2 separate regions of the Homo sapiens genome follow, and region 2 is linked to region 1. The links are contacts of gene promoters, found by promoter capture Hi-C in blood cells and fetal thymus (Javierre and others, 2016). All regions are on one chromosome and are shown on one strand. Each heading gives the region's core, a stretch centred on a gene start or on the middle of the fragment in contact. The rest is flanking DNA. Distances are from core to core; before and after follow the strand shown. Region 1 holds the start of SLC30A4 (solute carrier family 30 member 4). Region 2 has its middle 15 kb from the start of BLOC1S6.

Region 1 (5,985 bases), core at 2,283-4,782:
GAAGGAAGAAAGGAAGGAAGGAAGGAGGGAGGGAGGCAGGCAAGGAAGGAAGGAAGGGGAAAGGAGGAGGGAAGGGGAAGGAAGGAAGGGGAAAGGAGGGGGGAAGGGGAAGGAAGGAAGGGGAAAGGAGGGGGGAAGGGGAAGGAAGGAAGGGGAAAGGAGGGGGGAAGGGAAGGGAGGGAAGGGAAGGAAGGAAAGAAAAAAGAAAGAAAGCTGAGATAGGCTGAAAGCTATGCCTCTTCTTTTTTTTTTTTTTTTTTTGAGACGGAGTCTTGCTCTGTCGTCTAGGCTGGAGTGTAATGGTGCGAGGCTCACTGCAACCTCCGCTTCCCAGCTTCAAGCGATTCTCCTGCCTCAGCCTCCCAAGCAGCTGGGAGCTACTCGGCACATGCCACCACACCCAGCTAATTTTTGTATTTTTAGTAGAGACAGGGTTGTCTCTACTATGGTAGAGGTCCACCATGTTGACCAGGCTGGTGTCGAACTCCTGACCTCAGGTGATCCGCCTGCCTCAGGCTTCCAAAGTGTTGGGATTACAGGCGTGAGCCACCATGCCCTGCACTATGCCTTTTCTTACCCAGGTTGTGAATGCAAATGAAAAGTTCTTTTTTATTGTTTGGGTTTGTTTGTTTGTTTGTATTAAACTTTTATCACTTGACTCTGGGAAATGGGAAGGTTCTTGAAGGAAATTAGAAATACCCAGACCAGCCTGGGCAACATAGTGAGACCCTGTCTCTATTTAAAAATAAATAAATTAAATAATTTTTTTAACAAAAAAGAAAAGTTTGAAGCTAGCAGAGGTCGGTTCATGAGATTTAAGGAAAAAAGCAATCTCCATAACATAAAAGTGCAAGAAGCAGCAGCAAATGCTGATGGAGAAACTGCAACAAGTTGTCCACAAGGTGTAGCTAAGATCATTAAAGGTGACTACAATAAACAACAGATTTTCAATACAGGGGAAACAGCCTTCTATTGGAAGATTCCACCTAGGGCTTTCATAGTTAGACAGAAGTTGATGCCTGGCTTCAAAGCTTCAAAGGACAATCTTACTCTCTTGTTAGAGGCTAATGCAGCCCGTAGCTTTAAGTTAAGGCCAATGCTCATTTACCATTCCGAAAATTCTAGGGCCCGTAGGAATTATTCTAAATCTACTCTACCTGTGCTCTATAAATGGAACAAAACCTGGGTGACTGGCCGGGCGCGGTGGCTCATGCCTGTAATCCCAGCATTTTGGAAGGTCGACCCAGGTGGATCACCTGAGGTCGGGAGTTCGAGACTAGTCTGGCCAACATGGTGAAACCCCATCTCTACTAAAGATACGAAATTAGCCAGGCGTGGTGGCACATGCCTGTAATCCCAGCTACTTGGGAGGCTGAGGGAGGAGAATAGTTTGAAATCGGGAGGCAGAGGTTACGGTGAGCCGATATCGCGCCATTGCACTCCAGCCTGGGCAACAAGAGTGAAACACCATCTAAAAATAAAAATAAATGAATAAAAAAGAAGAAATACCTTTCATAAGGCTATAGCTGCCATTGATTCCTCTGATGGACCTAGGTAAAGTAAATTGAAAAACTTCTGGAGAGGATTCAGCATTCCAGATGCCATTAAGAACATTCGTGATTCATGGGAGGTCAAAATATCAATATTAACAGGATTTTGGAAGAAGTGGATTCTAACCCTAATGGATGATTTTGAGGGATTCAAGACTTCAATGGAGGAAGTAACTGTAGATGTGGTGGAAATAGCAAGAGAACTAGAAGTGGAACCTGAAGATGTGACTGAATTGCTGCAATCTCATAAAATTTGAACAGATGAGGAGTTGCTTCTTATAGATAAGCAGAGAGAGTGGTTTCTTGAGATAGAATCTACTCCTTGTGAAGATGCTGTGAACACTGTTGAAATGGCAACAAAGGATTTGAATATTCCATAAACTTAGTTGATAAAGCAGAGGCAGGGTTTGAGAAAACTGGATTGACTCCAATTTTGAAAGGTCCACTGTGGGTAAAATATTATCAACCAGCATCACACGCCATCAAGAACTCTTTCATGAAAACAAGTCAATCAATATAGCAAATGTCATTGTTGTCTTATTTTAAGGAATTGCCACAGCCACCCCAACCTTCAGCAGCCACCATCCAGATCAGTCAGCAGCCATTAACAAGGAGCAAAGACCCTCCAACTAGCAAAGAATATGACTTGCTAAAGGCCTAGATGATTGATAGCTTTTTTTTTTTTTGAGACCGAGTTTTGCTCTTCTTGCCCAGGCTGGAGTGTAATGGCGTGATCTCGGCTCACCACAACCTTCGCCACCCGGGTTCAAGCGATTCTCCTGCCTCAGCCTCCCTAGTAGCTGGGATTACAGGCATGCGCCACCATGCCCAGCTAATTTTGTATTTTTAGTAGAGACAGGGTTTCTCCATTTTGGTCAGGCTGGTCTTGAACTCCCCATCTCAGGTGATCCGCCCGCCTCGGCTTCCCAAAGGGCCGGTATTACAGGCGTGAGCCACCACGCCCAGCTGATAGCATTTTTTTAGCAGTCATGTATTTTATTTACTTGTTTATTTTTAGAGACAAGGTCTCACTCTGTCGCCAGGCAGGGGTGCGGAGGCACAATCATAGCTCACTGTAATCTCGAACCTCTGGGCTCATGCGACCCTCCTTCCTCAGAGCAATTAACAAATGTATATATACTTTTTCCTTCCTCTCTCCCAATATTTTAAATTAAGGTATGCACATTGTTTTAGACATAACGCTATTACACGCTTAATAGACTACATTATAAACATGATTGTATTTGCACTGGGACATGAAACATTTGTGAGACCTCACTTTGTCATATTGCGGTGGTCTGGAACCAAATTCGCAGTATCTCCAAGGTATGCCTGTACTAGATTTTCTATGCTTGAGTTTAGTCCATATCGTAAATACCTTGGAGGCAAAAGGAACACGGCAGAGAGCACAAAGAGGACAATACATATTTGCTGAAAAACAGTAGGACACAGAACTGCTGACGACGACAGCCTTGCCCTCTCCAGTTGACTGCAGCAAATGTTGCCAATTTGCCAGAGACAAGCAATTCGAGGAGAGAAAAGCTGCTTGCCTTTTCAGTTAGCAAGAAAAGTGCTGGGTTTGTCTTCTGCCGAGCACCCGCAACCCAGATCCCGACCCGAGATTCCTGAGACACACTTTCGGTGGAGGGAACTCCTAGCAGCAACGCCCAGCCCCCGGCGTGACCCTCCGACCGCACTTGCCTCCCAGCCTGGGAAGGTGGAAGAGGCCGCCCAAAGTCCCCTCAGTTGGCCAGTGAGTGACCCCTGGGCGGAGGCGGCGCAGTGGCCCCCAATCCAGCCTCGGGGCGAGAGGCGGGGCGCGCCGCGCGCCCCCGCCCATCGCGGGCGCCCCAGCCCTGCGCGCCAGGCCTGCGTGTCCTCGCGCCGACCCCTCCCTCGCGCGCCTCGCCCGGCGCACGCGCGTGGCCTCGCGCAGGGCGGGGAGAGGCGGTGGCTGTGGGCGTCCGGCCCCGAACCTGTCAGACCTGGGGAGCCGGCCTCCAGCAGCGGGCGCGGCGGGCGCGAGCACGACCCCACTCTCCTGCGGCCGCGGGTGGAGCAGCGCGAGCCCGCCTCGCTGAGCCGGCCGGGGGCGGGGAGATGAGTTGCGGCCCCGCGGCAGCGCCCCAGGTATTAAATAGATGTGCCGCCCCCTCGCGGAGCCCCGGCGGAGCGTCGGGGTCGGCCCTGCGACCCGCCGCCAGCGGCTTCGGAACTTGAGGACAGGGTTGGGCGCCTTTAATTTATAACGTGTTTCGTTTTCCACAGGATGGGGAGGGACGCGCGGCACTGCCCTCGAGAACTGGCGCTCCGGTGAAGTAGGCGCCGCCGGCCGTCCGCCTCCCCCAAGCCGTTCCGCACCGCGGCCGCTCAGCCTCTGCCATGGCCGGCTCTGGCGCGTGGAAGCGCCTCAAATCTATGCTAAGGAAGGATGATGCGCCGCTGTTTTTAAATGACACCAGCGCCTTTGACTTCTCGGATGAGGCGGGGGACGAGGGGCTTTCTCGGTTCAACAAACTTCGAGTTGTGGTGGCCGATGACGGTTCCGAAGCCCCGGAAAGGCCTGTTAACGGGGCGCACCCGACCCTCCAGGCCGACGATGATTCCTTACTGGACCAAGACTTACCTTTGACCAACAGTCAGCTGAGTTTGAAGGTGGACTCCTGTGACAACTGCAGCAAACAGAGAGAGATACTGAAGCAGAGAAAGGTGAAAGCCAGGTTGACCATTGCTGCCGTTCTGTACTTGCTTTTCATGATTGGAGAACTTGTAGGTGAGTTGTGTTGCCAACTCACTTTCCGTTTACCTTTCCTCGAGAGTCTTTGTCAAGCTGTAGTTACACAGGCTTTGAGGTTTAACCCATCTTTTCAGGAAGTTTGTATTTATCAAGACACTGATCTCATGTGAAAAGGCCACACGGTTCCAAAGTGCAGCTCAATCTAAGTACAATATAAACTCCCCGAGATAACTTTGACTTTCTCTTCTAGTTGTTCAACCACTGTCATCTACCGTAAAGTTAAGGACGTTATCTTCATTGTATGTCATGTAACTTCCTCTTTTTACAAAGGTCTGGTAAAATACCAGGTTAATTTTCGCAACGTTTAAAATAGTAAATGATCGTAAATAACTTAAGATCATAGAATTTTACAGTATGAAGGGACCTTACTGAACACCTGCTCCACCTCCTTTTTTTTTTTACATGTAAGGATTTCCAGGGCACAAACCAGTGGAATAAGTCGTGAGGGCCACTTAGGGAGTTAATGGAAGAGCCACATCTACAGTCCCAGCATTTTTTTCCTCTACATTTGACCTAAGTGGTTTCTTTTATACGATTTCCTTTTGTATTTATAGCCAAGAGATTTGCAAAATTAATTACCAACTAACATGAAATTTTTGCCTCGTAAGAAGGGCCTGAAATGAACCAGAGGACTCCGCCAAAGTTCTATGAGCCTGGTTTTCTTGTTCATTTTTTAATTATACGAACAATCCGTTCTCAATATAAGATACATTCTTAGTTTAGAGGTTATTTTCAATCACGTCAGTATAACTACTAACTTCTCAGTGACAGTTTACAAAGTGACATAAAAGCAGGGAGATGATTCTTACATGTCATCTCTTAAATGATGAACCATGACAAAAACAGGTGGCAGTCCAGATTTAAGATGTTTGACTGGAGGGTTCTATGTGGGAAAAATTATATACATTTCCTACCTTCTTTCATAACACTCCTCCCCAGGGCTCGCTTCAGCCATGCTGGTCTTCTTTTTCCTCTTACAACTCACAAAGCTCTTTTTGCCTCTAAGGCGTTCAAAGTGGCTGGTCCTTCTATCTCAGTGGCTTTCAAACATTTTTTGACCTCACTGTAGTAAGAAATACACTTCACATTGTGACTCATTTAGGCATGCATGCATACATATGTATGAGAATATACACAGGTCACATGTGTATAAATATATGTATAACTGAAACAAAAGTTTTCCTTCATGTGATGTATCCTAATAGTTTCTTCAATTGTGGTCCCAGCTCACTAAATGGATTTCGTGTGTCCACTGCAGTAGGTCAGGGCCTTAGCTTGAAAAACACTGCTTTACATAGACTGCCTTTCCCAAATCTTTTCTTGGCCAGTTTCTTGTCATTCGTGTCTTATTTAAAAAGACACCCCGGCCGGGTGCAGTGGCTCACGCCTTTAATCCCAGCACTTTGGGAGGCCGAGGTGGGTGGATCACCTGAGGTCAGGAGTTTGAGACCACCCTGGCCAACATGGTGAAACCTTGTCTCTACTAAAAACAAAATACAAAAATTAGCCGGACGTTGTGGTGGGCGCCTGTAATCCCAGCTACTTGGGAGGCTAAAGCAGGAGAATCGCTTGAACCCGGGAGGCGGAAGTTGTGGTGAGCCGAGATTGCGCCACTGCACTCCAGCCTGGGCAACAGGG
Region 2 (5,985 bases), core at 1,101-3,600, 50 kb before region 1:
TGAGTTGACATCTTTTACACATATTTGAAGCAAGTTGTTTGTTTTCTTATCACTGAGTTTTAAGAGTTATTTGTATATTTTGCATAATAGTCCTTTATCAGACATGGTTTTTTTGTTGTTGTTTTTTTGTTTTTATGAGACGAAGTCTCACTCTGCCACCCAGCTTGGAGAGCAGTGGTGCAGTCTTGGCTCACTGCAACCTCTGCCTCCTGGGTTCAAGTGATTCTCATTCCTCAGCCTCCCAAGTAGCTGGGATTACAGGCATGCACCACCACACCTGGCTAATTTTTGTATTTTTAGTACAGACAGGGTTTCACCACGTTGGCCAGGCTGGTCTCAAACTCGTGACCACAGGTGATCTGCCTGCCTCAGCCTCCCAAAGTGCTGGGATTACAGGTGTGAGCCACTGCACCTGGCCTATCAGACATGTTTTTGAAAATATTTTCTCCCAGTCTATGGCTGGTCTTCCCATTCTCTTGATTTAATTTTTAAAATGAACATTAGAAAGCAACTTAGGACAGTATGTCTCTATAGAAAGAGGGCAGATTTTCAAATTACTCACAAAAGCACATGACCAGTTTTGACATTTATAGTCAGGGACACCTTTCTGAGGTATACCTCCATAGAAATGATAGCAGCAGCGACTCATCTAAAGTGGCCATTGCCAAGATGCCAGCTACAGCAGGGAGGCACTGGGTAGTTCCTTAAAGGAAAATACGATCCATGGAGCAGGCAGGAGCCCTGCCCTTCGGCTGCAGACCCAGGGGTCTCTGTGCTCTTGGGAGCCCAGAGCCAGCTCTCTCCCAGAGCCCCCTGCCAGCACCTGTTCCTGCTGCCTGGCTTCTCCCACTGTCAGCTCCTGCTCTAATCCTGGAGCAAGGTTGGAGCCGAGCCCCGGCATTGTTGCAGCCCAGCCAGGGGGCTCATGCTCAGGGCAGTGCTGACACACCAGCCCCCAGCCACATCAGTCCCCTCCAGACTTTGGGTGATGAGGATCATGGGAGGGAAGCCGAGGGGGACTGCACGTAGCTCAACACTGGCCTGCAGGCACCTCTTGGCACAAACATCCTGGGTGCCAATGAATGGCCGTGAGAGGCAGACAGGCTCCTGGGAGGAAGGGGGTGGGTCCCCAGTGAAGCTCCACTTTCAGGCCAGGGAAGGTCCTACCAGTCCTGCCCACCAGAGGGGGAACTTGTGGTGCTTTTTCCTGAGCCCACCTATTGCTGCCCATGGACCAATCAGCATATACTTTCCCCACTCTGAATGAAAACCATAAAAACCCCAGACTCAGCCAGAGCAGGGCAGACATCAGGATGGCCAGCTGCATAGAGGAACTACCATCTCCGCTGAGAGATGAACATTTTTGGGGATGACCTGTCAGCAGAGAGGAGCCATCCACTCCAGGCCTCCTCTCTGCTGAGAGCTGCACACTCGATGGGACGACCTGCCCACAGAGAGGACCTGCTCACCGCGGGTCTCCTCTGAGCTGTTCTGACCCTCAGTAAAGTTCTTCTTCGTCTTGCTCACCCTCCACTTGTCTGCATACATCACTCTTCCTGGACATAGGACAAGAACTTGGGCAAAGGCACCACCACCCACAGAGGTTTCCAGCCAGAAAAGCAGCACCTCAAATATCCCAAGAAAAGAAATAGCAAAGGGCTAAAGTCAAAAGATTTGTTTCAAGCCCAGCTAAGATAATCATTAGCTGTATTAGATTTTTGTCTAACCAACTAGCAAGTAGAGAAGTCCAGACCTTCCTAAACAAACAAAGGAAGTTTTGATCAACTGAGCTTGAAAGTCCGGGGGCTGCTCTGGCTTCAAGGATTTCTATGTCTTCTCCTCAGCCAAAATAGGAATCTCTCCCTCTCTCTCCCTTTGATTCTCCACTCTGCTTTCTCCTATGTAGCATTCACTCTAGGAGCTCTCTCAATGTGATAGGAAAATAGCTCCAGGGTTTCATGATCCTTACATCTCCCAAGTGAAGTCAGTGCGCTCCTAGCATTCATTTATTTCAATCCCTTAAAAAAAAAAAAAAAAAAACTCAAAGCCAGGCACAGTGGCTCACACTTGTAATCCCAGCACTTTGGGAGGCTGAAGCAGGTGGCTCACTTGAGGTCAGGAGTTCAAGACCAGCCTGGCCAACATGGTGAAACCCCGTCTTTACAAAAAATACAAAAATTAGCCAGGTGTGGTGACGCATGCCTGTAATCCCAGCTACTCGGGAGGCTGAGGTAGGAGAATTGCTTGAACCCAGGAGGCAGAGGTTGCAGTGAGCCAAGATTGCACCACTGCACTCCAGCCTGGGCAACAGAGCAAGACTCCATCTCAAAAAAAAAAAAAACACTCAAATACTTGGATTACATGCCCACCCGTATACCAATCTCTGCATCTAGGGGAATATAGTGGACCCTGATGGGTCAGTGTGGGTCACACATAACAGACAGAGGCAGAGCCCCTTGACTGACAGACCTGCTAGGAGTTATAGAAAGGCACTGGGTAGTTCCTTAAAGGAAAAATCAGAGTCCTATTACCAAAAAGAGGAAGGAAATTGGCCCAACCAAAACAACAGATGTCAACTATATCAGTTATGAGATTTTAGTCAAGTCACTTACTCTCTGAACCTGTGTTTTTTTCATCAGTAAAAGAGGCATGATAATGATAATACCAGACCCATTACTCGGTGTAGTTCTTGTAAGAATCAAGCACGCATTATATGAACAGGATTTGTAAACTGCTGCAAGACACTATTGTAAATAATAGCACCCACTAAACGAGCATTTATTATGGCTAGAAGAAATAGTATTATTTCTGTTATTAGTGCCTTGGATACATATATTCACTAACCTTAATGTGATCTCTTAAATAGACTTTAGGTTTCCTAAGTAACCATTCAACCTTAATTTGGCTTCTTATGTAGACTTCTCTGTTGAAATAAGAGGGACTAAATGACTTAAATGAATATCGGAGGGCTTGGCAATTCTATGTTTTATTAAAATTCATTTCTTTTATACAAATCAACTTCATACAATAGGCAGTTTTTTAGTGGTTAATATCAACTGGTTAAGCTGGCAACTGAAGTTGCAAACCTGCAAAATTAGAAGATCAAGCTGTGAGGGATAGAGAACATCACCAATACCAGTGTTCTGCTTCTATTGGCAGGTGGGGAATCTTTTTTATTTTTTATTTAGTATTATCAAATCTGACAGTAAATGAATATCCGTAATATTGAGTGTTAATCATTTGAAATAGTATCAGTGTTTTTGAACTATTAGTAAAACTAGTCACAAATGATGATTCATTCAAATAACTTTAAATATTATTCAAAAGACAGCGATTCTTCTTCCACTTTGGGGTTTTCACAAAATTCATTTGTTAATCTTACATGTAGATATCAAAGTAGCCATCAGTCATTATTACTTTATTCTCTATGTTATGGAAAAAGTGTGATTTTAATGACCATAGGCATCATATATTATTCCAGGACTCAGCTTTCCTTTTAGGATAGATTTATTTAAATTAGCTAGGAGATAGATCATGCTTCATTTAAAATTGCTAAAATAAGTACTTGCATTAGCTATGCAAAATAGTCCTTTTTTTACTTAAAATGTTCTCTTCAAAGTGTTTCAGTTGCTAAATGTGAATTATTTCCAAAGATTCTCCAGACCAAAAGGTGAGATGATATTTTAAAAATTCAATTTCCTTATAATGTAATGAGGTCAATAATACAAAGAGTTCAGAGTCTCTGATTCCTTTTTCAGTTTAAAAATGCCAGTGGATCAAGTAATTTCTAAATTATTGCCCTAGTCTTTGGACTTCCTATAAATTTCTTGTCAACATTTTTTGAATTTACTTAGGAAAGTGCTGTCTTTAAAATTAATTATTCACTTACCTTCATTTTAAAGTATTTTTTCAAAACTGCTTATTTGATGTAGTAGATGAAAGGGTATATTTAAAGGCATTAATTTTTATTAACAGCTAAATATCTCAAGATGTCATTTTTCCCTCTAAGTTTTCAGAAAAGTCTCTATTATGTGCTCCCAGAGAGAAAAATAGACTTTAAATTAATTTACTTAATAAAGAGATAAATATAGTCTGTCTGTATCTCATCATAAACTTAGGAGAACTAATCCCTGAATGCCAATGACTACTGCAGGATTTTATCAGTCCTGGTTTTCCTCAGTCCCACCGTCACCTTCCCTGCTCTGCCCCATACCACAGGGGCTGGCTTTCCTGGTCCCTGTGCCAGCTTGCTTCCAGCTGAGTTTGGCCAATGGGAGGCACTAGTAGAGGTTACAGGCTGGGAGATTGGAAGGGGGTGGTAAAGAAGAAATCAAGGTATTTCTCCTTCCTTTTTGCCTCAGAAGGCAACTGGAGCAATGACTGGCTCTCCCATCTGGCCCCAGCTCCCAGTTGGAGAGTCCTGCTGTGAGTCCAACTTTGTCAGATATATCAGGCAGGGTCCAATGAGGAGAAAGAATGCACACAGTAATTTAAACAGGGAAAATTTAATATAGAAATTTAGGCCAGGCACAGTGGCTCACACCTGTAATACCAGCACTTTGAAAGGCCAAGGAGGGAGGATTGCTTGGACCCAGGAGTTCAAGACCAGCCTGGGCAACATAGCAAGGTCCCAACTCAAAAAATAAAATATAATTAAGTTAAATTAAATTTTAAAATATAGAAAGTTATTCACTATTAGAGAGATATTGGAGCAATGCAGTAAGAAAGATAATTCTAAAGAATACAAGAATAGCAGATATAAGGAGCAGTCACAACGTTGGGACTGAGATAAAGCATCCAAGTAAGATCTCTGCAACCTCACCAAGACAAAAATCCAGATCTTGTTGGAGATGGAATAGTGTTGGTTCACTAGATAGTGAAGCTGAGGTGCCATGCCAGAAGCACTTGCTGAGGTACTAAGACAAGCTATCTGCAGAGAGATACCAAACCTTGCCACCCATTGCAAAGCTACCTTAGGTGATGCTGGGGAAACTCCCCATGGGGAGGTACTGTGTGCTGCCAGCTAGGAAATACTGCAGGAGCTGGGCACTACAGAAGCCATGTGTGTTGCAGGAGCCAAGTATTGCAGATGCTGTACATACTGCAGGAGCACCGGTGAGAGGAGCACACGGAAGTCAGGAAGAGAGAGAAAAAAACGTTCCTCCTGCAATGTCTCTCCAGCACCGTCTACCAACAAAGCTTAATATCATGCCAGAAGAGAACTATTTACAAGGCCTATATTAGTTTGCTATTGATGCATAACATATTACCGCAAACTTAGTGGTTTAAGCAACACAAAGTTATTATTGCACAGCTCCTGTGGCTTAGGAGTCTGGCACATTTTGTCTGGGTACTCTGCTTAAGGTCTCACACAGCTGAAATCAAGGTGTCAGCTGGCTACATATTCATCTGGAGGATCAACTAGGAAGTGATCCACTTCCAAGTTCATTTAGGTCATTGGCAGAATTTAGTTCCTTGCAGTTGTAGAACTGAAGACCTTGTTTTCTTGCTGGCTGTCAACCAGGGACCACTCTCAACAACTAGAGGGTACTCTGGCCATGTCACCCCCTCCATGGGCCCTCTTAACTTTGAATCTCCTCGCCCAAGAAGAGTCCTCTTTCTCTTTCAAGAAAGCACCTGAGTAGGTCAGACCCACTCAGGAAAACCACCCTTCGATTAACTCAAAGTTAACTGATTTGAGATCTCAATTATATATTCACCTTTGTCATCTGATGTAACCTAATCACGGGAGTAAAATCCATCATGTTCACAGTCCCATCTATACTCACGAAAAAGGGATTATATAGGACCTGTACACCAGGAAGGTGAGAATCTTGGGAGCCATCTTAGAATTATGACTATAGGCAATGAAGAATGGATTTGGAGTGAAGAGACAATAAATTGACGATTGGCATACCAGGTAACCCCTACCCCTGGGTTCCAGGAACACCACCTCTTCTCCAGCCGAGGGGACAGTGGCTGCCT

The links. The method cuts DNA at HindIII sites, captures the fragments that hold promoters and counts their contacts. A CHiCAGO score of 5 or more calls a contact.
Region 2: a contact is called between a fragment that was not itself captured here and the fragment with the promoter of SLC30A4 in region 1, in 3 of 17 cell types (M2 macrophages, total B cells and naive B cells). The highest score is 6.7, in M2 macrophages.

What each region holds. Positions count from the first base shown.
Region 1 is chr15:45,520,302-45,526,286 of GRCh38, reverse strand. SLC30A4 (solute carrier family 30 member 4) reads left to right here and starts at 3,532. Exons shown (of 8, transcript NM_013309.6): 1 at 3,532-3,680; 2 at 3,819-4,323. The coding sequence starts at 3,933. It also overlaps the pseudogene HMGN2P46. RefSeq lists a silencer at 3,340-3,829. The HindIII fragment of the contact is 8,884 bases long and covers 1,034-5,985 here.
Region 2 is chr15:45,569,389-45,575,373 of GRCh38, reverse strand. No RefSeq gene overlaps it. Among named protein-coding and RNA genes, the nearest start is that of BLOC1S6, 15 kb to the left of the region's middle. The HindIII fragment of the contact is 5,703 bases long and covers 1-5,201 here.